Regions from separate parts of the Homo sapiens genome. Here regions 1, 2, 3, 4, 5 and 7 are each linked to region 6. Evidence: promoter capture Hi-C in 16 types of primary human blood cells and fetal thymus (Javierre and others, 2016). All regions are on one chromosome and are shown on one strand. Each heading gives the region's core, a stretch centred on a gene start or on the middle of the fragment in contact. The rest is flanking DNA. Distances are from core to core; before and after follow the strand shown.

Evidence for each region. The method cuts DNA at HindIII sites, captures the fragments that hold promoters and counts their contacts. A CHiCAGO score of 5 or more calls a contact.
Region 1: a fragment that was not itself captured here is called in contact with the fragment with the promoter of TMEM252 in region 6 in 2 of 17 cell types (total B cells and naive B cells); the score reaches 5.6 in total B cells.
Region 2: a fragment that was not itself captured here is called in contact with the fragment with the promoter of TMEM252 in region 6 in 8 of 17 cell types (monocytes, M1 macrophages, endothelial precursors and 5 more); the score reaches 9.4 in monocytes.
Region 3: a fragment that was not itself captured here is called in contact with the fragment with the promoter of TMEM252 in region 6 in 4 of 17 cell types (total B cells, endothelial precursors, naive B cells and 1 more); the score reaches 10.6 in total B cells.
Region 4: a contact is called between a fragment that was not itself captured here and the fragment with the promoter of TMEM252 in region 6, in 9 of 17 cell types (endothelial precursors, neutrophils, total B cells and 6 more). The highest score is 12.9, in endothelial precursors.
Region 5: a contact is called between a fragment that was not itself captured here and the fragment with the promoter of TMEM252 in region 6, in 4 of 17 cell types (endothelial precursors, naive B cells, total B cells and 1 more). The highest score is 8.1, in endothelial precursors.
Region 7: a fragment that was not itself captured here is called in contact with the fragment with the promoter of TMEM252 in region 6 in 1 of 17 cell types (total B cells); the score reaches 5.5 in total B cells.

Annotation. Positions count from the first base shown.
Region 1 is chr9:68,909,776-68,913,453 of GRCh38, reverse strand. The region is part of intron 8 of PIP5K1B (phosphatidylinositol-4-phosphate 5-kinase type 1 beta); the gene reads right to left. Among named protein-coding and RNA genes, the nearest start is that of PRKACG, 100 kb to the left of the region's middle. The HindIII fragment of the contact is 6,425 bases long and covers 1-3,678 here.
Region 2 is chr9:68,991,777-68,995,424 of GRCh38, reverse strand. The region is part of intron 15 of PIP5K1B (phosphatidylinositol-4-phosphate 5-kinase type 1 beta); the gene reads right to left. Among named protein-coding and RNA genes, the nearest start is that of PRKACG, 21 kb to the left of the region's middle. The HindIII fragment of the contact is 5,656 bases long and covers 1-3,648 here.
Region 3 is chr9:68,929,918-68,933,231 of GRCh38, reverse strand. The region is part of intron 12 of PIP5K1B (phosphatidylinositol-4-phosphate 5-kinase type 1 beta); the gene reads right to left. Among named protein-coding and RNA genes, the nearest start is that of PRKACG, 83 kb to the left of the region's middle. RefSeq lists an enhancer at 2-1,201. The HindIII fragment of the contact is 151 bases long and covers 1,835-1,985 here.
Region 4 is chr9:68,969,972-68,973,211 of GRCh38, reverse strand. The region is part of intron 14 of PIP5K1B (phosphatidylinositol-4-phosphate 5-kinase type 1 beta); the gene reads right to left. The region is part of intron 1 of LOC101927069 (a long non-coding RNA gene); the gene reads left to right. Among named protein-coding and RNA genes, the nearest start is that of PRKACG, 43 kb to the left of the region's middle. The HindIII fragment of the contact is 3,045 bases long and covers 1-2,826 here.
Region 5 is chr9:68,946,092-68,949,711 of GRCh38, reverse strand. The region is part of intron 14 of PIP5K1B (phosphatidylinositol-4-phosphate 5-kinase type 1 beta); the gene reads right to left. Among named protein-coding and RNA genes, the nearest start is that of PRKACG, 66 kb to the left of the region's middle. RefSeq lists an enhancer at 2,299-2,975. The HindIII fragment of the contact is 293 bases long and covers 1,804-2,096 here.
Region 6 is chr9:68,539,297-68,542,563 of GRCh38, reverse strand. It overlaps TMEM252 (transmembrane protein 252), which reads left to right and starts at 1,681. Exons shown (of 2, transcript NM_153237.2): 1 at 1,681-2,027. The coding sequence starts at 1,750. It overlaps TMEM252-DT (TMEM252 divergent transcript), which reads right to left and starts at 1,539. Exons shown (of 5, transcript NR_187592.1): 1 at 1,334-1,539; 2 at 1-186. The HindIII fragment of the contact is 3,743 bases long and covers 1-2,156 here.
Region 7 is chr9:68,868,914-68,872,631 of GRCh38, reverse strand. The region is part of intron 5 of PIP5K1B (phosphatidylinositol-4-phosphate 5-kinase type 1 beta); the gene reads right to left. Among named protein-coding and RNA genes, the nearest start is that of PABIR1, 91 kb to the right of the region's middle. RefSeq lists an enhancer at 1-490. The HindIII fragment of the contact is 443 bases long and covers 1,493-1,935 here.

The DNA.
Region 1 (3,678 bases), core at 1,152-3,651, 370 kb before region 6:
AATTGATAAATCTGCCAACAACTTAACATGTGTGAGCTTTAAGAGTTAGCAACATTCTGCAACATGACAGACACCAGTTAGTCCAGTTCATCACTCAGGTGCACATTTCCAGAATGTCTGCCTGACCTTACTGTTGCTAGTATATTCTGTACCTGTGCATTTACTATTCAAAACTCAGGTTACAATGCAAATACAGGTGCCTTTCCGTCTAGCTCTGGCAGGACTTTACTTCCCTACTTGTAAAAAAAGGAAACAGGAATGATTCACAGAACTATTTAAAACTGAAAGCAAGTTGGAATACTGCAAGGCTTTCTATTGCCAAAGTCAGATTCTTTCTTCCTTCTCTCTCAAGGACTAATTTAAGTCAATAACAACATTGGAATGTAGTAAAAAAGTCAATGTCAAAGTCAATGTCAAAGCAGCTGCTAGAGTACCCTGAAGACACAATCAAAAACTACCTGTTCTTGAAATGAGAGCATATTCCTCAGGTTTTCATGACTGGTGATGCATGAGTGTTCCTGTAACTTCTGTAGATTTGGGGACCTAATGTGGAAATATCCTAACTCAGAATCATAGGCATTGCCATCCTCTCTTCATGACTAAAGGCTACAAAGAGCAGCTGGTCCTCCTTTTGCTTTTACATCTTTAACACCACATCACACTGCAAACTATCTTCTGTCTTACTGCTAGCAGGAGCTGGTGTGGCTGCAGGGTGGTTCAGTCTCCTTGCTCTGGAACCAGATGGCCTGGTTTGACTCATGGCTCCCCCACTTGCTTGTTTTTGGGCAAAGTATTTAACATTTCTGGTATCTATTCTCACCTGTATTATCTCTATAATAGGGATTCCTACCAAATAATTCCTACCAAAGTTACTGTGAAGATTAACTGAGTTAATCCGTGCCAAGTCTTAGGCACACAAAAAGCACTCAATTAATGTCAGCTATTCATGTTATTCCTCCACCTGCAGAATCGATCCCTATGACCAGCCCACCTTGAATCTCCCCTCTCCCTTAGCTATTGTGCCCTGGCTTCTCTTGGTTCTTTGTCTATTTGACTTTTCCACTTTTTCTTCCTGTGCCCTAAAGATGTTCACCCAAAGCTCTCTGTTTTTTCTACTTTCTAGTACTTACATTCATTGACTCTTTTGTTGGAAAAAAAAATGTTTGAGTGCCACGCACTGTGGAAGTTGATGGATCTTCAGGGATAAAACAACAGATAATTATTCCATACTCAACATTAAACAAGCCCGAATTACACATTGTAATAAGGCCTGGAGGGAAAAATCAGAGAGCTGTGGGAAGATCCCACAGGAAGTACCTACTTTCGACTGGGGGGTATTTCAGCAGTCCAGGTAAGAGAGGGTAATACTTGAATGAGTAGGGGCAGCTGGGGAGCTCGAGGGAGAAGTGGATAGATTTGAGATCTTCTTAAAGGTAGATTCCAATTACCATCTTTCTACAGAAAATTCCTAAATTGTTGCATTTAATCTGACTTCATTCCTAAGCTGCAGCCCAATATATTTCCTTCAGAACATCTCTAAACTTCTTTTTTAAATTAAAAAAATATTTTTTTGAAACAGAGTCTCACTCCATCACCCAGGCTGGAGGCAGTGGTGCAAACATGACTCACTGCAGCCTTGACCTTTTGGGCTCAAGTGATCCTCTCATCTCAGCCTCCCGAGTGGCTGGAACTACAGGCACATGCCACCACACCTGACTAATTTTTTGTGGAGATGGGGTTTTGCCTTGCTGCCCAGGCTGGTCTTGAACTCCTGGGCTCAAGCGATCCAACCACCTCGGCCTCCTAAAGTGCTGGGATTACAGGCATGAGCCACCATGACCATCTAAATGTCTACACATGGCCATGCTATAACCCTAAATTCTTACCTCACTCCAAAGCAGTTCTTTTTCCTCACTTCCCTCTTTTATTTGAAATCATTCTAATGCGATTTCATACTTCATGGCTACTTTTCCTTCACTGAGTCACCCAATCCTGCAGCTTCTATTATCAAAACGTTCCTTCTCTCTAATGATAATGAATTAATTTCAGTTTCCCATTCTTTTTTTTTTTTTTTTTATTTGAGATGGAGTTTTGCTCTTGTTGCCCAGGCTGGAGTGCAATGGCATGTTCTCGGCTCACTGCAACCTCCGCTTCCCGGGTTCAAGCAATGTTCCTGCCTCAGCCTCCCAAGTAGCTGGGATTACAGGCGTGTGCCGCCATGACCAGTTAATTTTGTATTTTTAATAGAGACAAGGTTTCTCCATGTTGGTCAGGCTGGTCTCGAACTCCTGACCTCAAGTGATCCACCTACCTCAGCCTCCCAAAGTGCTGGGATTACAGGCGTGAGCCACCATGCCTGGCCCAGTTTCCCATTCTTTCCTCACAAACCCATTCCTGACATCTGTGCTTGACCAGGTCACATCACATCCCTACTCAAAGCCTTCAGTCTCTCACCACTGCTTGGTGCCAGTGCTTCAATTTGACATAGAAAGTCCTCACTAATATGGCCCTAGCCAATGTCTTTTTGTTACTTAATGCCTGGCTAGAGACATTTGCCAGGCTAGTCTAACTGGAGCTCTTTACCCCTGAATGTGCTCTGAAGATGTAAACTCTGATGCTTCTGCTCATGTCGTTTCTTCTAGATGGTCCTTACCATCTTTTCAAATCCTACTGTTTTTTCAAAGCCTGTCCCCACTCCATGCAAATTTACTAATGATTTCAACAAACTATTGGGATATGTCTCCCCTCTGAAGACCCAAGCACATTATTAGTGTCCCTCTGTCATATAAAATTCTACCTCAGGTTACACCTATATTCTTTGTATCATACACACAAGACTTCATTTCTCAACAAAGACTGGTTTGACTTAGTGCATTTTGCTGTGTGCTCTGAACACAGTAGGAATGAATATTTGTTATACTGCTTTCCACATGTATAAGTAAGTGAAAACCAAAATATTCAGCAATAAAGAATGTAAAACACTACACCCTGTATCTTAAATATAAGAACTTGATACCTGTGCATCATGATTACAATGCCCATGAACAAATTTTTGGCACTAAAAACATTTACTGTGATTATGTGCTCTGTGTTGTCAGAAAAATAAAGATAAAAGCCTACAGTGCTTTCAAACCTACCCACACCATAGGTATTTTATATACACTGTGTCAAGGGCAAAAATCAAGCTGATATTTATAGAGATTCTTTTGATTTACTGTTTAGTAGGCATACAGCTAAATGGCAGATAAAAGGCAAAGTTGTTTTGCTATAAATTAGGCTGAGCTTTGAGTCTAGTAAGACTATCACATTTTTCTTTAGGAAGCCTTTGCAAGAACAGCATGTCACAGGCTTGGTCAACTGTGAAGGCTCTTTAATCATCCAAGAACGCTTGGTGCTGGCCCTAAGATGGAACACATCTCAAGGCCTTCTTAGTTTTCCTGTCCTCTGCTCCCTTGTCATAGGGGTTCTTATGGAAATTAACCCATTCAATACGTATTTTATTGCGCACCTACTATGTGACAGGTACTCTTTTGTTTAAAATTCCTTTGTGCAGTCTAGCAGACATATAATAAAATTAGAACATCCCCATTTTACCACTCCTGATGAATGAATGAGTCTAATCAGTGGTCATCAACAGGTACTAACATTGCAGAAAGAAAGGCATTCTGACATGATGTG
Region 2 (3,648 bases), core at 1,051-3,550, 450 kb before region 6:
AAAATTTTCCAGCATGAAAACACATTCTGGAATTACAAGTTAATGGTGCAGGACTTTCTAGATGTACTGCCATAAAATTTAAGTTTAAAGAATGTGAAAGTTTATGGTACAGGAGGTGATTAAACAGCAAAATTTGGAGAAACAACGGTAGATACTTTGGAAACCTTCCTTTTCTCTTTCTTTCTCTCTTTCTTTCTCCCCTCCCCTCCCTTCCCTTCCCTTCCCTTCTTCCCTTCCTTCCTTCCTTTCCTTCTTTTCTTTCTTTTCTTTCAATTTCTTTAGAGACCATGTCTCACTCCATTGCCTAGGCTGGGGTGCAGTGACTAGATCATGGCTCACTGCAACCTCAGACTCCTGGGCCTGAGGGATCCTCCAGCCTCAGCCTCACAAGTAGCTGGGACTACAGGCATGCACCACCAAGCATGGCTAATTTTTTTTTTTTTTTAATTTTTGTAGAGATGAGGTATCACTGTGTTGCCTTGGCTGGTCTCGAACTCCTGGCCTCAAGCAATCTTCCCACCTTGGAAAATCTTATTTCTATATCTCTTTGTAATTTAGAATGAACCTGATTTAATAATTCATTTTATAGATGAGAAAACTGAGATCACTGAATTCAAGGGAAACGATTAATGAGAGGCAGAGACCAGCACAGACTCCAGGTGCCTATTTGTCTCTAATTAATTTATGCTTCACTTGGTTTTGCAACAGGTGAAGAGACTAAGTTAAAATATGAGAAAAACTCTGTAGGGATCATTTCTGGGGGTCCATGAGGTCAAACTATTTTCCTAATAATACAAAGATGTTGTTTGCCTTTTTATTCTCATTCCCTTTCATGGATGTACGATGGAGCTTTCTAGAAATGAAATGATGTGTTATATATATCAAGAAGACAGATACAGAAACAGATGTGAGAATCTTTTTTCTTCCATTAAGCCAGACATTAGGGATTTGCAGAAATATAAAAGAATGCCACCTTTCTCACAAAATTTATTTTTGTTTTGGAAAATATAATAATATTCATAAAAACATTATTTAACATATAATAGATTACTGTTTTAAATTAATGAATACTTAAACAATTTTGGCTAGGTGCAGTGGCTCACTCCTATAATCCCAGCACTTTGGGAGGCCGAGGCGGGCGGATCACCTGAGGTCAGGAGTTCAAAATCAGCCTGACCAACATGGCGAAACCCCGTCTCTAGTGAAAACACGAAAAATTAGCTGGGCGTGGTGGCAGGTCCCTGTAATCCCAGCTACTTAGGAGGCTGAGGCAGGAGAATCGCTTGAACCTGGGAGGTGGAGGTTGCAGTGAGTCGAGATCGCGCCACTGCACTCCAGCCTGGGCGACAAGAGTGAAATTCCATCTCAAAAAAAAAAAAAAAAAAAATTCAGGAAAAAACAGTGAAAGAATTTTACAAAAAATATTCTCAATAAAACCCCCTCATTCCTTCCTTTCTGTATCCTTCCCTCACTCTTGTAAGACACATGATTCCAATGAGATGGACGTGAGACTTATATTTATGGTCAATAACAACAACAGGGTGCTCCTGGGTTCAAGTTTAGGCAGGACCACACATGGAGCTGAATTTGAGTTTTGGCTCACTTAGGAATATTGCACCTCCGTGACTGGTGAAAATCTAGTTTTTGTAAAGACACATGAAAGTGGCATGAATCCTTAGCTCATGAAGATGAGATTTTACTTAGCTTCTTTCTGAAAGGCTTTCCTGATTTCTGGTTCCAGATGAATCCAACATGGGACCAAAAATGTATTTTTTTCCCTATTTAATTCCCCATTTTCTTGGTTGGGGGTGGACCAACTTTTCTGTAAGGATTTTGTGATCTGCTACAATCTTATTTTTTTTAAAGCGGGGGCAATGGTAGGGTGGAGCATTGCTCAGTGCAAAAAAATTTGTTTATGCAAAAACTAGGATATTCAGAGAAAAAATCTTTTTACAACGGTTGGTGGGGGACCTGCTGTTTTACGTAGGGGGCGGTCAAGAAAAGCCTATCTGAAAAAGAGGTACTTGGGCTGAGACCTGAAGGAAGTGAGGGAGCATGGGATAGGTGGAAAAGAATACACAGACAGGAATGGCAAACACAAAAGTCCCAAGGCAGAGATGTGCTTGGTCTGTGAGAGGAACACCAAGGAGGCCAGTGTGGCTAGAATAGCATCAGCAAGGAAGAGGGAGACCCAGGGAGGGGGCAGGTCGGAGATGCAGGGGAGACCAGACCATGCAGGGCCTGGAGGACTTTTTTTTTTTTGGAGACGGAGTCTGGCTCTGTCGCCCAGGCTGGAGTGCAGTGGCGTGATCTCGGCTCACCGCAAGCTCCGCCTCCCGGGTTCACGCCATTCTCCTGCCCCAGCCTTCCGAGTAGCTGGGACTACAGGCGCCTGCCACCACGCCCGGCTAATTTTTCCTCTGTATTTTTAGTACAGATGGGGTTTCACCGTGTTAGCCAGGATGGTCTCGAACTCCTGACCTCCTGATGCTCCTGCCTCGGCATCCCAAAGTGCTGGGATTACAGGCGTGAGCCACTGCGCCCAGCCAGGACTTTTTTTTTTTTTTTTTTTTTTTTTTTTTTTTGAGACAGGGTCATGCTCTGTTGCCTAGGTGGGAATGCAGTGGCATGATCTCGGCTCATTGCAACCTCCGCCTCCCAGGTGCAAGTGATTCTCCTACCTCAGCCTCCTAAGTAGCTGGGACTACAGACATGCACCACCATGCCTGCCTAATTTTCCTATTTTTAGTAGAGATGGGGTTTCACCATCCTGGTCAGGCTGGTCTCGAACTCCTGACCTCAAGTGATTTGCCTGCCTCAGACTCCCAAAGTGCTGGGATTAGAGGCATGAGCCACCATGCCTGGCCAGGACTTTGGATACTACTCCAGTATTGCTAGGAGTAGCATCTTAGGTGACTGATGCCCTGCAGAGCACTTGTGAGAAATTACAGTGCTAGGTCAGGGATATGGAAAAGCATAAAATGCAGGCTCAAGGAGGCTCAGGGAGCTGCTGTGAGACATGCATCACTCGGTGCTGATTCCTGAAGTTGCACTTGTACACCAGGAGCGACACAGAGTATTGGCTCAGGTTTAGCAAAACTTAAAAAAACCCAGAAAATTCCAAAAGAACACTTCCCCTGTTTTATGTAATTTTGTGCAGGTAGGCCGGGTGCAGTGGCTCATGCCTGTAATCCCAGCACTTTGGGAGGCCAAGGTGGGCAGATACCTGAGGTCGGGAGTTTGAGACCAGCCTGACCAACATGGAAACCCCGTCTCTACTAAAAATACAAAATTAGCCAGGCGTGGTGGCACATGCCTGTAATCCCAGCTACTAGGGAGGCTGAGGCAGGAGAATTGCTTGAACCTGGGAGGCGGAGGTTGCGGTGAGCCGAGATCGCACCATTGCACTCCAGCCTGGGCAACAAGAGCAAAACTCTGCCCCCCCCCAAAAAAAATTTTTTTTTGTGCAGGCATACAAAGACGTAGCATACATGCAAGATGCACTTGGCACAGAAAATACTCTTTTACAGTGTAGCCCATCAGGGTATCTTTCTAGGCATTATCTAACAGTTCGATTAAGCTGATACAGGTAATTTGACAGGCACTAAAGGGTCACTCATGATCCTCAAAGCAGCCTTGTAAGGTAGG
Region 3 (3,314 bases), core at 661-3,160, 390 kb before region 6:
TACATGTGCCAAGGTGGTTTGCTACACCTATCAACCTATCATCTCTATCTGCTAACTTTTATAGACCTTCAATAAACTCCTGTCTTTCAATATAGTATTTTAAAACTGCTTCTTCTTCTTTTTTTTTTTTTTGAGACGGAGTTTTGCTCTTGTTGCCCAGGCTGGAGAGAATGGCGCAATCTCGGCTCACTGCAACCTCCGCCTCCCAGGTTCAAGCAATTCTCCTGCCTCAGCTTCCTGAGTAGCTGGGATTACAGGCATGCGCCACCATGCCTGGCTAATTTTGTATTTTTAGTAGAGACGGGGTTTCTCCATGTTGGTCAGGCTGGTTTCGAACTCCTGACCTCAGGTGATCTGCCTGCCTTGGCCTCCCAAAGTGCTAGGATTACAGGCATGAGCCACTGTGCCCAGCTGTATTTTAAAACTTCTAAATCAGAGGATCTCAGATGTGGGGTGGAAACTAAGGGGTCTCTGAGACCCTTTCAGAAGATCTGTGATGTTAAAATTATTTTCATCATCATCATAAGACATTATTTGCCTTTTTCACTTTCATTCTCTCATATGTGTAGAGTTTTCTAGATGTTACATGACCTGTGATGTCACCACATATTGAATTCAGAAGCAGATGTGAGACTCCAACTTATCTTCTATTAAGCCAGACGTTAAGGATTTCAAACAAAAAGGTAAAACAATTCCACTTTTCTCACTAAATTATTTGTGGAAAATATAATTATATTTTGTAATTATTTATGTTAAAAATTGACTGATGTTAACACGCAATTTTTTTTGTTAACTGGTAAGAATTAATAAATATTTTTAAATTTTTCTCAATTTTAATTTCTAATATGTGAAATATAGATAGCTATCACCCACATAAATAAAAGCTCTTTGGTGTCCTCAATAATTTTTAAGGGTGTAATGTGGCCCTGAGACCAAAAGGTTTGAGAACTGCTTTTCTACATCATAGTTCTTAGGTCAATGTTATTTCTCTAAACGAAGAAACAGCAATGATCAAAAGGTTTTCGGCAGTACCAAGGAAATGCGATCAGGGTGAGAGCCGTGTAATGAGGAAAAGATACTCAGGAGACCTATACTCATGGCATTTCATGGAGTGAGGGCCAAAAGACTGGAAAAAGAAGTAACTCTTTGTTCTTTATCAGCATCACGTATAATGAGGAGCAGAGAAGACCGGAAAACAAACCTCTGCCAAGACCACATAGCACCACAACAAAGAGTTCACTTTTGTCTCAAGTGGTGAGTTTCTTCCTTAAAGGAATGATCTCACTCAGCAGATAAGAGCTTGGATTTTGCAGAAATTTAATTCTCAGGATCTCTTTTGACTGGGTAACATTGAGAGCTGGTTTGGGTGGCTGGTTGCTTCCTTTTGTGTGGCAGAAACGCCTAGATTTGTCTTTGGCTCAACCATGGCTGGCAGTAGGTATCCTGTGTCCATTTCTAGCCTTGCATTCTGCCACTCGACTGCCTCCATGTTCACTTTTCAGCTCACCCTTCTGCCATATTGGAACCTACCATGTTCATTCTGCCCTTAGGCCTTTGCACATGCTGTTCTTTCTCCTTGAGATGCCCTTCCTGTCTCTCTTCTTAATGAACTCTGGGTTACATTTTCAGGATTTAGTTGAAATATCTTTTTCTCTGTGAGCTCTCTTTTGGAAGAATTGGTCTTTTTTTCTCTTATTTCTCTCCGCGTACCCATAGTAGCATATGCAGAAATATTAGCAATTGTTTCATTACAGATCTGTCACATGTTTCAATCTCCGGCTCAAAAGAGACTATTAAATTATTGAGGGAGGAACTAATCAATATTTAAAAAGCTTTCTATATCATCAGTGCTTAGTGTAGTGCTAGATACATAATAGGTGCACGAGTGTTTGTTCATGAATGCATTATTGTTCTGAAGTTTTAGAACAGTTAATTTTCTCTAACAAATTAATTTAACTCTTATATTCTATTCAGGAAACTAAGCTTTAGTACTTTAGACAAATTATTCGTATGGAGAATTTCAGTGAAGTTTCAACATAATGGTGGCTAATATTTCCAGGAAATATTATAGGATTTTGTAGACATTATTACACCGGCAGCATGACTCACTTGTGGGTGGGATGAAGGGATTTAAAAAGGTTAAAAAACACTGACTTCAAAAAAGAAACTTGAAGACCAGGTACTATTTTCTTGGTGGGAGGGGAGTATGCCTTTAGGCATTAAGGGCTTTAAATTAACCATGGTTGATGGAACATCTTAAAGTTAACTCAAGTGTCTACTTTTCTAATAATTTAATTACCCTTTGAAATGGTGGTGTTAGATAAAAATTCCATTCATTCATTGCATTATTCATCAAATAACCATTGAGTGTCTACTGTGTGCCAGGAAATGTGTTAAGTGAAAGTTAAGGACTTTGGGCACCAGGGAATCCATGGACGTTTATTTCCTTTAGCATTATTATTATTATTATTATTAGCATGGAAGGGTTTTAACAGAAATCAGCAAGAGCAGATTTATATTTTAAACTGATTCCTCTAGCTGCAGTGTGTGTGTGTGGAAATTGGATTGAATGGGTACATGATGGGAGGCAAAGAGACCTGTTTGGGGCCACAACTTTATGCAAAAAAAAAAATAATAATAAAACCTGCAAACCAAAAAACACAGTGGCTGAATCAGGAGAGGTACTGTGAGAGAAGGGGCTGCAATCCTGATACTGCAGAGTGAGGACTGATAGGTGTTGCTGAGTAACTGCACGTGGGTGGTAAGCAGAAGGAAGGGGTCAAGGGATGATGGCAGCATTCTGGCTGGGTAATTGGGTGGATTGTGGTGGTCTTCCATAAGACGTGGACCCAGGTAGAGAGGCAGACTCTGGGGTGGTAAGTGGCTAAATTCAATTTTGGGCATGCTGAGCTTGTGGAATCTAGTGGATGCTTAAGTTTGGGGAGTGGACAGGCAAGGGGAATTGCTAGAAGTGTGGGGAGTAAGTTGCAAGTACACAGATGGTAACTGAACCCTTGGGAGAACAGGGAATTACCCAGAGTGCTGTATAAGAAGAGACCGAGTCAGAGCCTGGACCCTGAGGAGCAACCACAATAAGAGTAAGCAGGGATGAAAAGCTTCCAAAGGATACCAAGGAGGAGAAGAGAGGCTGGAAGGCAACCAGGGAAGTCCTGAGTTACGAAAGACAAGCGAAGAGCGTTATTTCACAGAGAACTGCTATCAGTGGTCTCACATGCTGGAGAGTTTTAAGAAGACTGAAAGAGGCTGGGTGCGGTGGCTCACACCTGTAATCCCAGCACTTTGGGAGGCCAAGG
Region 4 (3,240 bases), core at 55-2,554, 430 kb before region 6:
GTTCACTGCAACAGATGAGGTTGTTGTATTACGTCTGAGCTGTTGCGGGAGCAGGCACTGGAAGGCTTTAGTTCTTGCCTTGTGGTCTCCCCTTCTAACCAGCATTACTTAGCTGGGGCTTGCTTGGGCAGTCACTTTATCTTTCTGAGCTTGTTCTTTATCCCTATCACAGTGATAAAAATCACTCTCGTTATTTACAACAGGGTTGATGTAAATAATAACATGTGCAAGTGTCTACCATCTGCTTGCCTTCGGAAGGCACCTATTAGATGTCCTTGCTCATGCTGGAGGTGCCTGAATTTACCCTCCTCATTGTCTCCTGGTCCCTGGAGCATTTGGGAGAATTCAGTGAGGCTGACTGTTATAAAATCTGTCCCTTGTGTTCAATACATTTTAGTTATTAGTATTATTGTTGAAGATAATTATATAAAGAAACACATGTTATAGACTTGACTGGCTCAGAAGGAGTTGTGTACAAGTAAAGGCTTAACAACCAGCATTTAGGAAAAAAACCCATGTGCACATATGTATGTACATAAAGTTTTTATACTTATATTTTTATTTTTTCAGACAAAGTCTTGCTTGCTCTGTCGCTCAGGATGGAGTGTAGTGGTATGATCTTAGCTCACTACAACCTCTGCCTCCCAGGTTCAAGTGATTCTCCTGCCTTACGCTCCCAAGTAACTGGGACTACAGGCACACACCACCACACCCAGCTAATTTTTGTATTTTTTGTAGAGACGGGGTTTTACCACGTTAGCCGGGCTGGTCTTGAACTCCTGACCTCAGGTGATCCACCCGCCTCGATCGCCCATTATTAACAATCAAATGGCTGTTCTTCATGGTACTGGTACAAAAACAGATATATACACCAATGGAACAGAACAGAGGCCTCAGAAACAACACCACACATCTACAACCATCTGATCTTTGACAAACCTGACAAAAACAAGCAATGAAGAAAGGATTCCCTATTTAATAAATGGTGTTGGGAAAACTGGCTAGCCATATGCAGAAAACTGAAACTGGACCCCTTCCTTACACCTTATACAAAAATTAACTCAAGATGGACTAAAGATTTAAACATAAGACCTAAAACAATAAAAACCCTAGAAGAAAACCTAGGCATTACCATTCAGGACATAGACATGGGCAAAGACTTAATGACTAAAACACCAAAAGCAATGGCAACAAAAGCCAAAACTGACAAATGAGATCTAATTAAACTAAAGAGCTCCTGCATAGCAAAAGAAACTATCATCAGAGTGAACAGGCAACCTACAGAATGGAAGAAAATTTTTGCAATCTATCCATCTAACAAAGGGCTAATATCCAGAATCTACAAGGAACTTAAACAAATTTACAAGAAAAAACAACCCCATCAAAAAGTGGGCAAAGGATATGAACAGACACTTTTCAAAAGAAGACATTTATGCAGCCAACAAACATGAAAAAAAGCTCATCATCACGTCATTAGAGAAATGCAAATCAAAACCACAATGAGATACCATCTCACGCCAGTTAGAATGGCGATCATTAAAATGTCAGGAAACAACAGATGCTGGAGAGGATGTGGAGAAATAGGAATGCTTTTACACTGCTGGTGGGACTGTAAACTAGTTCAACCATTGTGGAAGAGAGTGTGGCAGTTCCTCAAGGATCTAGAACTAGAAATACCATTTGACCCAGAAATCCCATTACTGGGTATATACCATAAGGATTATAAACGATTCTACTATAAAGACACACGCACAAGTATGTTTATTGCAGCACTATTCACAATAGCAAATAATTGGAACCAACCGAAATGCCCATCAATGATAGACTAGATAAAGAAAATGTGGTACATATACACCATGGAATACTATGTAGCCACAAAAAAGAGTGAGTTTATGTCCTTTGCAGGGACATTGATGAAGCTGGAAGCCATCATTCTCAGCAAACTAACACAAGAACAGAAAACCAAACACTGCATGTTCTCACTCGTAAGTGGGAATTGAATAATGAGAACATATGGGCACAGGGAAGGGAACATCATACACTGGGGCCTGTCGGGGAGTGGGGGGCACTCTATCATTAGGAGAATTACCTAATGGAGATGACGGGTTGAGGGGTGCAGCAAACCACCATGGCACATGTATACCTATGTAACAAACCTGCACGTTCTGCATACGTATCCCAGAACTTAAAGTATAATAAAATAAATAAATCAATAAATAAATACATAAATAATAAAAATCGCTGTTCTTAACAACTGGCTTGCAAAATTTGACTCTAGCAAGCAAGAAGATGTGGGCTCTGGCATGCTACTGCATGAAGGCAAGAGGAAAACATTAGGAGCCAATTTTAGCATAATATTTTGAAGTTGCTGCTTCCATTGGAGTCACTGTGGCTGCTGGCAACATGCTGGAGAGGTGGATATCAGTTAGGCAGCCACAGATCCTGGTGGGACCCCAGAAAAATCGCAGGGGGTGCTCAAATCCATATGTTTATATGTGATTTCTTAACAGAGAGTAAAAACACAATTTAAATGAACATGATTTTTGAAAGCAACAGCCCATTTTCTTCAATTCTAAAAATGGAAACCTGAAAAAGGGTACACACCATCGTGTATGGAATACGATATATAGTGAGGGAATAAAGTTCACAGTTGGGTGAACAAAAGTTCCATCCATCTTGGTATTCACAACCTACTCTGCCTTACCAACACTTTTCCACATATTGTGGGAAAGATTATCTCAGATGACTGCATGCATATTGCTTGGGTAGGACAATTTCCTACTAATTGCCAGGAACAACCAAACCCTAGTGGTAATCATCAAAGCTTAGGCCAATCCTGTTACAAGTACACAATGAATACGCATCTAAAAGACTTGGCGTAGTGCCTGGTCTTGACAACATGTAATTAACCCTAGCTATAATTCTGGATGGCACAGAGTTTCAGTGAGAAGCAATTTAAGGAAAAACACATGCTCCTTTAAACAATTTTAGATTTTATCAGTCAATGATTTTAGAAAGTTACCATCATCCTTTATAACATTTAAGAACATGTCAATGGAAAAGTCACTGGATTCAGAGTTGAGGAACTAGATTCTGGTCTTGATTCTGCTACTACCTATCTGTGTGATGTTAAGTAAGTAATGTCACTTCTATGCACCCTGGTTTTCCAATTTCTAAAGTAAGGGTGTTGGGGTAAGTAAGGGCTATTTTTTTAATGAAAAAATCCAACCTCCACAACTA
Region 5 (3,620 bases), core at 701-3,200, 410 kb before region 6:
TCACTGCTCAAGTAAACTCCTTTCAATTTAATTCAGCTGAACTTTTTCTTTTAACACCTTTAAGGCAAAAAGTCACTTTTGCTTAGGGCCTGTCCAGGCATGTCTGAAGTATGAGAAAGGAACTGAGGTCCTGTTCTCCTTACTAGAATCTGAAAACATATCCACTTTGCTATGGTTTTATATTTCTGGCATTACATGTTATGTCCTCTTAATTTCTTCAGAGAGTCCAGCTGTGTCTCAGCTGAACCACAGACAGGTGCTGTTTCACTACTCAGAAAGAACAGAGAGGGGAGAAGAGTTTATTTCCAAAGAACTTTTATATCCTAGTGTGGGTAAGAATTTCTTAAGGAGCTTGCCAAAATGCAGACTTCAGGGCTCCATTTCTAGAGGTAGGTACCCTGATGTAGGAGCTAGTCACACTGAGAAGCATTTCTCTAGAGGCTCCACGAAGGAGGGCAGAGAATTGAAGAGTGTCTACAAAGGTACATCCACTACCAGCAAACCATTCTTCCAGAGACATAGCACTAGTGTTTTAAGTCAAGGGAAATAAAGATGTAGTGTTTTAGTTCCAGAATTAAGAGGCAAAGAATGGATAAAGAAGTCTTTTTTTTTTTGTCAGTTAAAATATTCAAAAATTGGCCAACAGTTTTCCCACTTTTTTTGGCAATATGATTTATCCATAAACTAAATCGATTTAAAAATCTTAGTAACACACAAAAAGTACCCAGAAATATTATCTCACATGAATTCCTCAAAAAATGTGAATGTTCTTTGAATTAATGCTGAATCCTAAATTATTCTTCATATAATGTCAGATATCTGAAAAATTCACTTCAATTTCCTGCCCTGGCAGAAATATATGAGGGATCATTTGAAAAGCTAATCACTTCAGAAGTAATTCTATAATTTGTCAAAAAGGAAAAAAGACATCTGGCAAAATCCAGGTGCAGACTAATGTGATGTAAATCCATGTTTTTTCTTCTATTTTTTTTTTTTCTGGGGGTGGGGAGGAAAAACTAAACTAACAGGCATATTATAAAACTTCTGCAGGTTCCTTTTTTTTTTTGAGGCAAGGTCTCGCCTCTGTTGCCCAGGCTGGAGTGCAGTGGCATGATCACAGCTCACTGAAACCTGGAACTCCTGGATTCAAGCAATCCTCCCATCTTAGCCTCCCAAGTAGCTGGGACTACAGGCACGTGCCACCATGCTCAGATGTGTTTTTTGTTGTTGTTGCTGTTGTTGTTGTAGAAATGAGGTCTTGCTAAGCTGCCCAGGTTGGTCTCGAACTCCTGGGCTCAAGAGATCTTCCTGCCTCACCTCCCACAGTGCTGGGATTAGAGGCATGAGCCATCACTCGCAGCCAGGTTCCAACTTTTTCAGCATGTGCCTCAGCCACAACTGGAGAGAGATGTGACACCACTCAGGTTCACTGGTAATGCTATAATGGTTTTGATTTTTAAAATGGAATATCCTTCTTTCAAGAGACTGAAGAATAAGGAAGGTTTTTGCTTCTCTAAACATGTGGTATCATTTGCTTGATGACTTCATTTCTTGACACTTGGGAAAAGGTGACTAAATCCTTTCTTTACTAAGAATGAAAGAATGTGACCACATTTTCCCCTCATTCTGTGTTTGCTCCAGACTAAGAAAGATTCAGATAAGATGTTGCAGGGGTGGTGGGTTCACAAATGATGTATTGGTAATAAAGCAGAAATGTTTTGTAAGGGCATGGGTGATGGCTATCTGCTCCCAAACTGTGTCACCTGCCTTATCAGAGGGAGTCTCACTTGGGTTCCTCAAGCTTACAAGCCTCTTTGAGGAATTCTCAAACTAAAGATCTATCCCATGTGTCTAGAATTAGCTAAGACATTTCTATGAGTATTTACAACCAGCACAGTACCAGGGAATGCATTACTGATTGTCAGACAGACTTATTGGTAAATACTGGAGTCTCTAATTGCACAGATCATTAAAAAATTTATGGCTACTTTACATAGTACTATTACAATGGCATGAGAATAAATTGGTTCCATGATTACTTCTATAAAAGCCTAAATTGATTCCTGTTCTTGCACTCACACTACCTTTGTAAAGCTTTGACCCTTTCCTCTCTCTCTCTTTTAAAAAAGATCCTGTGTCTATCTAGCTTTTGCTCCATGTGTTGTGGTTGTTTTTATCCTATCTCAACTCTACTTTGCAATGCTGGGGCCCAGAGTTGCAAACGATATCCCATAGGCCTCTTGACTAGGTCCTGTCAGTCAAGGCATTGCAGGAGTTGGATGAGAAGGTGGCAGGAGGACAGAAGCTGCTGGCTTTCTGCTCTCATTTATCTTTCTTCCATTTCAGGGCAGTGTCTCTGGAGGTGGCTATGTTCTTGCACTATCCCAGCTCTTCAGGTAGCATCCTCCGCCACTGTCCCTTCTCCAAGGCGGCAGCAGGTATCGTGGCAGAGCTCATGGTGGGAGCTGCCTCCTGCAGTTATTTACCTGAGTTTCTGGAATTTCCCCCTTCAGTCTTCCAGCCTCCCCACATTCTGTAACCAATTCCCTTTGAAATTCCAAGTGTGTTTTCCATTTCCTGAAAGGACTCTAACAAAGCACTCCATGATGGCTTTTTGTCAAAAACATCATGCCCTTTACAGTGAGACTTATGCGGCAGCTGCAAGGTATTAGTGTCTCAAATCACTTGGTTATTTTATTTCAACAAATGTTTTATGGGGCTTACTATGTGCCACAAGGTATAAATGCTTTCTAATTGTTATTTCATTTAATCTTTATAACAACTCTGGGGGCAGTAGTATAGTAATTCACACTTTACAAATGAGGAAACTGAGGCACATGACGAGCAAGTAACTTGCCCAATGTTAGATCACTAGAAGTGGCAGTTTGAGAGCTAATGTCCTAAGGGATGATTTAGCAAGACGCATGAGCATCTTTACCCACCACCATCTGAGGTGGTGGGGGTAGGAAGGTCTGTTTGCAAGGCAGGAGTCAGCAGATTAAGAAACATAAAAGAACAGGCTGGGCGTGGTGGCTCATGCCTGTAATCCCAGCACTTTTGGAGGCTGAGGCGGGCAGACCAAGAGGTCAGGAGATCGAGACCATCCTGGCTAACACGTTGAAACCCCAAACCCCGTCTCTACTAAAAAAAAATTAGCCGGGCGTGGTGGCACGCACCTGTAGTCCCAGCTACTCGGGAGGCTGAGGTAGGGGAATTGCTTGAACCCGGGAGGTGGAGGTTGCAGTGAACTGAGATCACGCCACTGTACTCCAGCCTGGGTGACAGAGACTCTGTCTCAAAAAAAAAACAAAAAACAAAAAACCATAAAAGAACAAAGAGTCTGGAGAGGTCGTCTTCAATGTTTAGCATCAACGAGTGCATCATCCTACTAGGGGCTGTGTAGCCCTAGACTGGTGTCTAGGTATGGCAGGTAGCTGCAAAGTTCACAGCAGGTAACACAGTTGTGCTGTCTTTCCCTTGAGATTAGGGTTAGGGGAATGGAATCACTAGGAAGTTTTTGCAACTAGCTGTTCTCCTTTCATTTTGTAAATATTAAAGATTCCTGCTGACCTTGCTGTATCAACAGAAGATATAGGATTTTCTAAACCCAGCAGGAACAT
Region 6 (3,267 bases), core at 432-2,931:
TTTGATTGCAAGCTCACGTGGTCATTGACAGGATGCAGTTCCTCATGGGCTGACGGACTAAGGGCCTCAGTTCTTCAGTGACTGTTGGCCAGAACCTGCCCTCAATTCCTTGCCTCATGGGCCTCTCCAATATGGCAGCTTCCTTCTTCAAAGGGCGTAAGCCAAGAGGACAATAGAGAGAGTCTGCTAGAAAGATGAAAACCACAATCTTGTGTAGCCTCCACGGAAGTAACTTCCGATCACCGTTACCATATTCTATTGATTAGAATGAAGTCACTAGGTCCAGCCTACACTCAGGGGAGAGGATTACTTACACAAGGACATGAATATCAGGAGGTGGGATCCTTAGGGATCATCTTAGAAATATTCCATCTCACAGTTTGGGGAAGGAGGGAATAAGAGCTGTTTTAAGATTACAAAGACAATATCAAGACTAGAAGATCAAGGTAGTTCAAGGTCGAAATTGAAGCTAAGAAAGGTAAAGGCTAAGGGTTGGAATGGAGAAGTGCCTTATATAGTTTTTGATCCATAGTGTGTACCTCTCTAATATCCGTGTCTCCCAGCCCTAACATGAAGGTAGAGCTAAGGAGATGGTGAGTGTGAGACTAAAGGTTATATGAGGGATTATTAGGGCACGCCACAAAAAACTGCTGCTCTCATTGGGAAAGTAAATGGAAAATAATGGTAATGGAGTAGTGGAGTGGAACAGCAGCAAAGAGGAACTGAAGATAAGCTATCCTGAGTAAAAGCAACCCAGGGTTCCTATGGGAAGGAGACTTTTGGCAGAGACATGCCACATTATCAAATAAAAAAGGGCAGAGCCAGGGCATAAAGCACGTCTGAAATAAGCTATCCACAATCAAAGACAGTCAAGCTAAAGAAAACAAATTCCAGCCAGGAAACAGAAGGCTGGTTCTGGAAAGATTTTTTGAGGCAATGCTACATAGAGCAGAGGTGTGGAGGAGAGGACAGGGAACATTTTTAGCAGCATCCTCTAAAACGAATTCTATTTCATATGTACTTTATGAAAGGGGGAAAGATTGCAGGAATTACAGGCCCAAAATCCCCCCAAATTCCCGAGGCTCTGTCTATTATAGTCCTTTTCTCCAGCACTCTCCTTTCCCTCCCACTCAGGCTCTTTCGATCTTGTCAACAGAGCAGGAACCACGAAGTTCACACTCTGAACTTCTGTCTTGGAATTATGCCAGTATCATAGTGTGGGGGCAATAAGTGGGGATTCATTGAGGGAGGCAAGACAAACATGTTAACAGCCTTGAAGAAATGCCTTTTTAGTACAGAAAAAGGGAGAAGGAATCAGGAAGGGATTTCTTACCAAACCTCAAAGAAGATCGTTCTTTAAAGAGTGCTAACTTCTCCAGCTTTTAGTGGGGAATTGCCCTCCATGGGGATTAAGAGACCAGCGCCTTTTAATCAAAGGAGGGCTGTACGTTCAAATAACTGGGAACAGCTGAGTGTCCCACCCAACTCTGAAGAACAAAACAGCTACACGAAGCCACTCCTGCCTGCAGTATACAATGCTATGTTTTTTGGCTAATTCTCCAAGGATATTACACTTACTTTCAATGGTTAATGAATAGCTTCTAAGTGCCTGTTTCATTTAGTTGTCCAAAGGCCAGTGGGTCCCAGAGCATATAAAGCTGCAAGCTGGCTAATGAGCTCATTCTCTTGGAGCAAGCAGGGAAGCAGAGGAGCAGCAGGGTCAGGGTGCTGGGTTCCTAAGGTGCAAGGATGCAGAACAGAACTGGCCTCATTCTCTGTGCTCTTGCCCTCCTGATGGGTTTCCTGATGGTCTGCCTGGGGGCCTTCTTCATTTCCTGGGGCTCCATATTCGACTGTCAGGGGAGCCTGATTGCGGCCTATTTGCTTCTGCCTCTGGGGTTTGTGATCCTTCTGAGTGGAATTTTCTGGAGCAACTATCGCCAGGTGACTGAAAGCAAAGGAGTGTTGAGGCACATGCTCCGACAACACCTTGCTCATGGGGCCCTGCCCGTGGCCACAGTAGACAGGTACGTGCTGACAGGCAGAGGGACCAAGAAGGGCTGAGATGGGCTGAGTTGTGTAAGATCTGAGTAATTTCTGATCCTACTATGGAGCGACTTACATGTCCCATGGGCTGTCTGTCTAGAACCAAAGCTTTATTGTCAGGGAATTACTCTGGGGTTGTTATTAGGAAGAGTGGCGCCATCTTTGGGGAAAACCATGACGCAGGGGCAACTCATCTCAGAGAAACCCTACCACCACCCCCAGTGAAAACCCACCTAAGCCAATTTAGAAACCCAGGCTCTTTTGTTATATCATGGCAGCTGTCATTAATTAGTGGCAGGTGATGGTTAGTTACTTCCCATAACCTGGCTATGAGGTTCTAAGGAAAGCAAGTCCCAGACCAAATTCTGCCACACAACAAATGAAGAAGCAGGCATAAAATGAGTCCTGGAATCTCTGTGAGCTCAGAAAAGTCCCAGTTTACTGTCCTTTTAGGTGTTGTGATCTCACCTTGCATAAAACATTCCTTCAGGGGAAGGTGATAATATTCTAGAGGCAAGATTCATTCTTTCTCGCCATCTCATACATTAGGATAGTTATCATCAAAAAACAAAACCAAACAGCTAGTGTTGGTGAGGATGTCAATAAATTGGAACGCTGTGCATTGCTGGTGGGAATGTTAAAATGGTGCAACCACTGTGGAAAACAGTGTGGAGACTCCTCTATACATTAAATATTGAATTACTGTTTGATCTGGCAATTCTACATTCTGAGTTTATACACAAAGGAACTGAAAGCAGGGATTCAAATGGATGTTTGTACACCAATGCTTGTAGCAACATTTATTCATAATAGCCCAAATGTCCATCAACAGGTGAGTAGATAAACAAAATGTGGTATATACATGCAATGGAATATTAGCCTTAAAAAGGAAGGAAATCCTGGCACATGCCACCACTTGGATGAAGTTGAAAACATTATGCTAAGTGAAACAAGTCAGTTACAAAGGGCAAATATTGTATAATTCCACTTACATGAGTACTTAGCGTAGTCAAATTCACAGACACAGAAAGTAGAACAGTGGTCCCAGGGGCTGGTGGAAGGAGAGACTGGGGACCTATTGTTTAATGAGTAGAGAGTTTTAAGGTGATGGTTGTAGAGCAATATGAGTGTATTTAGTGCCACTGAGCTATACACTTAAAAACAGTAAATTTTATGTCATATATATTTTACCACAAGAAAAAAAAGATTCAGTTAATCTTA
Region 7 (3,718 bases), core at 465-2,964, 330 kb before region 6:
GGACACTGAAAAAAAGGCACAGGGACAAAAGGAACTCTTCACAGTATTCCTTTTAAGAACAGGACAAGCCTTGCTGTGTATTATCATTCACAAAATTAAATAAATTTAAAAAGTTAGAGGTTAAAAGCCATAAACTGATTCCTCTTCCCCCAAACTGAGCCCTCCGTGCTCAGCACCACAGCAGAAGGTTTGTTTACCTCTGCATATTTAAGCTGTTCCAATGAATAACAAATACCAGCTTGACATGAATGAAGCTCTAGTGAAGGAAATGCAAATTAATGAGATCGCTGGCCCCTGCTGGGCCCGGATATTTGTCAGGGGAGCACGAGTGCAGAGAACAAAACAGCAAGTCCAGTGAAGGTCAGCCAGCAGGCAACAACCTTGGTTCTCTGAGGCCCCACGCTGGCACATTTACTGTGTGTAGATGTGGGTGCCAGCCCACAGGCGTTCAGCACAGAATCTCCACAGCACAGGTACCAAGTGCTTAGCAACTTCCACCATGGCAGAACTGCCAACATTCAAACACAATGACCGCAATCAACGTTTGCCTCCTGAAGTCCACAGGCTTTCCTTGCTTGAGACTGGAGTTACCTGTTGAGTAACTGTGCTCAGCATCCAGACTTAGCAAAAATGAAGTCAGAAAAAGAGTAGAACTCCTCACAGTTTAAGATTTACCTTATATTTCTTCAATGCACTTATGTAGGGTGTGGAAAAAAAAAAAAAACACCCGACAACTGACTTTCTTGTCTTGGCGTAAGTTGAAGCTTTGGAAATCTCAGCTATGGGGTTTTGAGCAGTGGTTCTAGATGCTTGGATCCCATGGGCCAGTAAAATTTCGACAACAAAAGTTTGGAATCCAACCTTGGATTTCCAAATTTATTTTGCCAAGTAAGAACCTAAACAATTAAGCAAGCACACGTTACAATCCCTATCACATCAGGGCATTTTTAGCTCCAAAAAAGGAGAAAGAAATTTCAAATAAAGAACAGAAGTTTCTCTGTCCTCTTCCCCACTTATTCACTAAGAAGCAGTTAAAGTTCAATCACAGACCAGCTCTGGCATTCTGATATTCACCTCTTCTGAGGCAAGTTCATTTTTAAGGCCAAAGCTACTGCTTGTCTTAGTCTAAAAATACATATATCTTAATGGCAACGTATGTTCAGAATTACACAATGTTGAAGCTTGAGGAAGCATTAGCCGCCATCTGGAATTCCCCATTTAGCAGATAAATCATAGTCCAGGGAGGGAAAACAATGGCCCAAACTGATCAGGAACAAACAAGATTGGGAGATTAGACTCACATCAGAACAGCAGAAAAGTCATAAGCAGATAGGAATGGCTTAACTTAGACTTGACGTTCCTCTGTTATTCCTCCTTTTCAGGATTCTGTTACAAGTTTCAGGGGTTTCTCCCTGCCCAAATATCCCAATTACTTCCACATGAGGCCTTCACACCACAGGGGCTGGTGGGTAGAATTTCACTTACAGAAGCTTTGGTCAGTTGGTGTTCTCCTCTCTATGTACTAATAACAACACAGCTTTGTTTATGGGGTTTTAGAGCCTGATGACCAAGTGCTAGTTTTGGTGGCACTGGACTGAGAGATGTGGTGGTAAGCAATGGGGTAAAACTAATTTAGCATCTCAAAGACAACACAAGGGGACCAGTTTTGGAGCTGAGACTCAGAGCTTTCTTGCCTCTAGAGCAGCATTTTCCATTTAGTGAGCTTTGTTTATTTCAAATTGTAACCAAACCATCAATAGTGGCTCTGAGGACTTTTGACAAAACTAGTACTTACGCAACTCCTGGGTGATAGTGGTCAGTGTCGCTAAAGGATGCTAAATGCCCTCACTTGTATTCAACAAACATGACCTTACCCTCTGTATGACAGGATAAATGAAGGGTGCTTTGTCTTGATGTGCAGACATTAGGAAAGCTTAAGTGGCACTACAGTTGGGTGAATGCCACTACAATCCAGTAACAAACTACTGATGGTACCCAGTCTTCAAGTTGGACCTTCGTACACAGCAGTCTGTAAAAGCGGCCTTAAGGTATTATTAATTGCCTCTGCCAATTCAGCCAAGGTGGATATCCCTTGGTTTCCACATACAATTCTTTACGTAACTAGAGAGAGAGAGACAGAAATTGGTCCTCTTTTTTGCCAAATTAGAGAGTGCTCATGAATGGAAAAACAAAACAAAGCAAAACAAAAGACACATTCCTTGCTGGTGCCAACCTCCTGTTGCTGAGCAGTTCTGTGATGGGTACACATGAACTGCATTGTATAAGACGAGGCTGCACCATCTTCAGAGACCAACCAGCTGACAGCCAATCTGTAAAAGTCAGCATCTGAAGACAGCTTAAATTCCCCAACCAAACAGTGCATTCCGGGATGTCATTTACTGGGAACATGTGACATCATCGGTTATATAAACATTAAACCATCCAAGAAGTTATTACCATACTGGAAAACCGTGCTTGAAGATAACTTCAAATAAAGTAGAATATTGTATAATATCCAGTGCATGCAATAAATCCTTTGAGCTAAAGGAAGAGGTATATGGCTTTTAGTAATAGGAAATCAGTTTCTCCCCATCCTCACCAAATACACGCTGAACAAAGACATAAAGAGTTTTGATTTGAAGGAGCATCATATTATGGCTTGCCCAGCAGCAGTCACTTCTCATTTTCTCCCAAGAAGACTAAGCTGGCAGCTTTGTCTTCTACCCACATGTACATAAAAACTGGTGCAGAATGTTTGTATAGATCAGGAGTTGGTAATCTTTTTCTTTTTTATTTATTTTTATTTTTATTAAATATAAAGAGATGAGGTCTCACTATATTGCCCAGGCTGCTTTCAAACTCTTGAGCTCATGTGATCTTCCCACCTCGGCCTCCCAAAGTGCTGGGATTACGGGCGTGAGCCACTGCAGCCAGCCTTGGCAATCTTTTTCTATAAAGGGCCAGATAATATTTCGAGCTCTGTGGGCCATACAGTCTCTGTAGCAATTACTCAACTCTGCAGCCATTGTAGATAGCAGCCGCAGACAATTTGTAAATGAATGGATGTGGCTTTATTCCAATTAAACCTTATTTACAAAAACGGGCAGTTAGCGGGGCCTGTCCCATGGGCTGTTGTATGCTGACCCACATGATATAAGACAGTGGTCCCCAACCTTTTTGGCACCAGGGACCAGTTTTGTGGAAGACAATTTTTCCACAGACAGTGGAAATGGGGGGATGGTTTTGGGATGAAACTGTTCCATCTCAGATCATCGGGCATTACATTCTCATAAGGAGCAAACAACCTAGATCCCTTGTATGCACAGTTCACTACAGGGTTTGTGCTCCTATGAGAATCTAATGCTGCCAGTGATCTGACAGGAGGCGGAGCTCGCCCTTGTAATACTTGCTTGCCCTCTGCTCACCTCCTGCTGTGCTGCTGGTTTCCTAACAAGCCATGGACTGGTACTTGTCCACAGCCCAGGGATTGGGAATCCCTGGTATAAGATGGACTCTTGGATAAGTTTATGTCATTATGCCTAGAAATGCAGGCAGTTGGCTAGTTTGTCAAACCTGTAACATTGAGTGATGATATGAGGCAATATTTTATATGAATCTTTGACATATATGTTTGCTTATCATTTAGGATAATGTTTTACCCTTGCCGTAGTTTCTTGGAATTCTTTTCCAAAAGGTGGGTATTCCCTGGCTGTCCAAA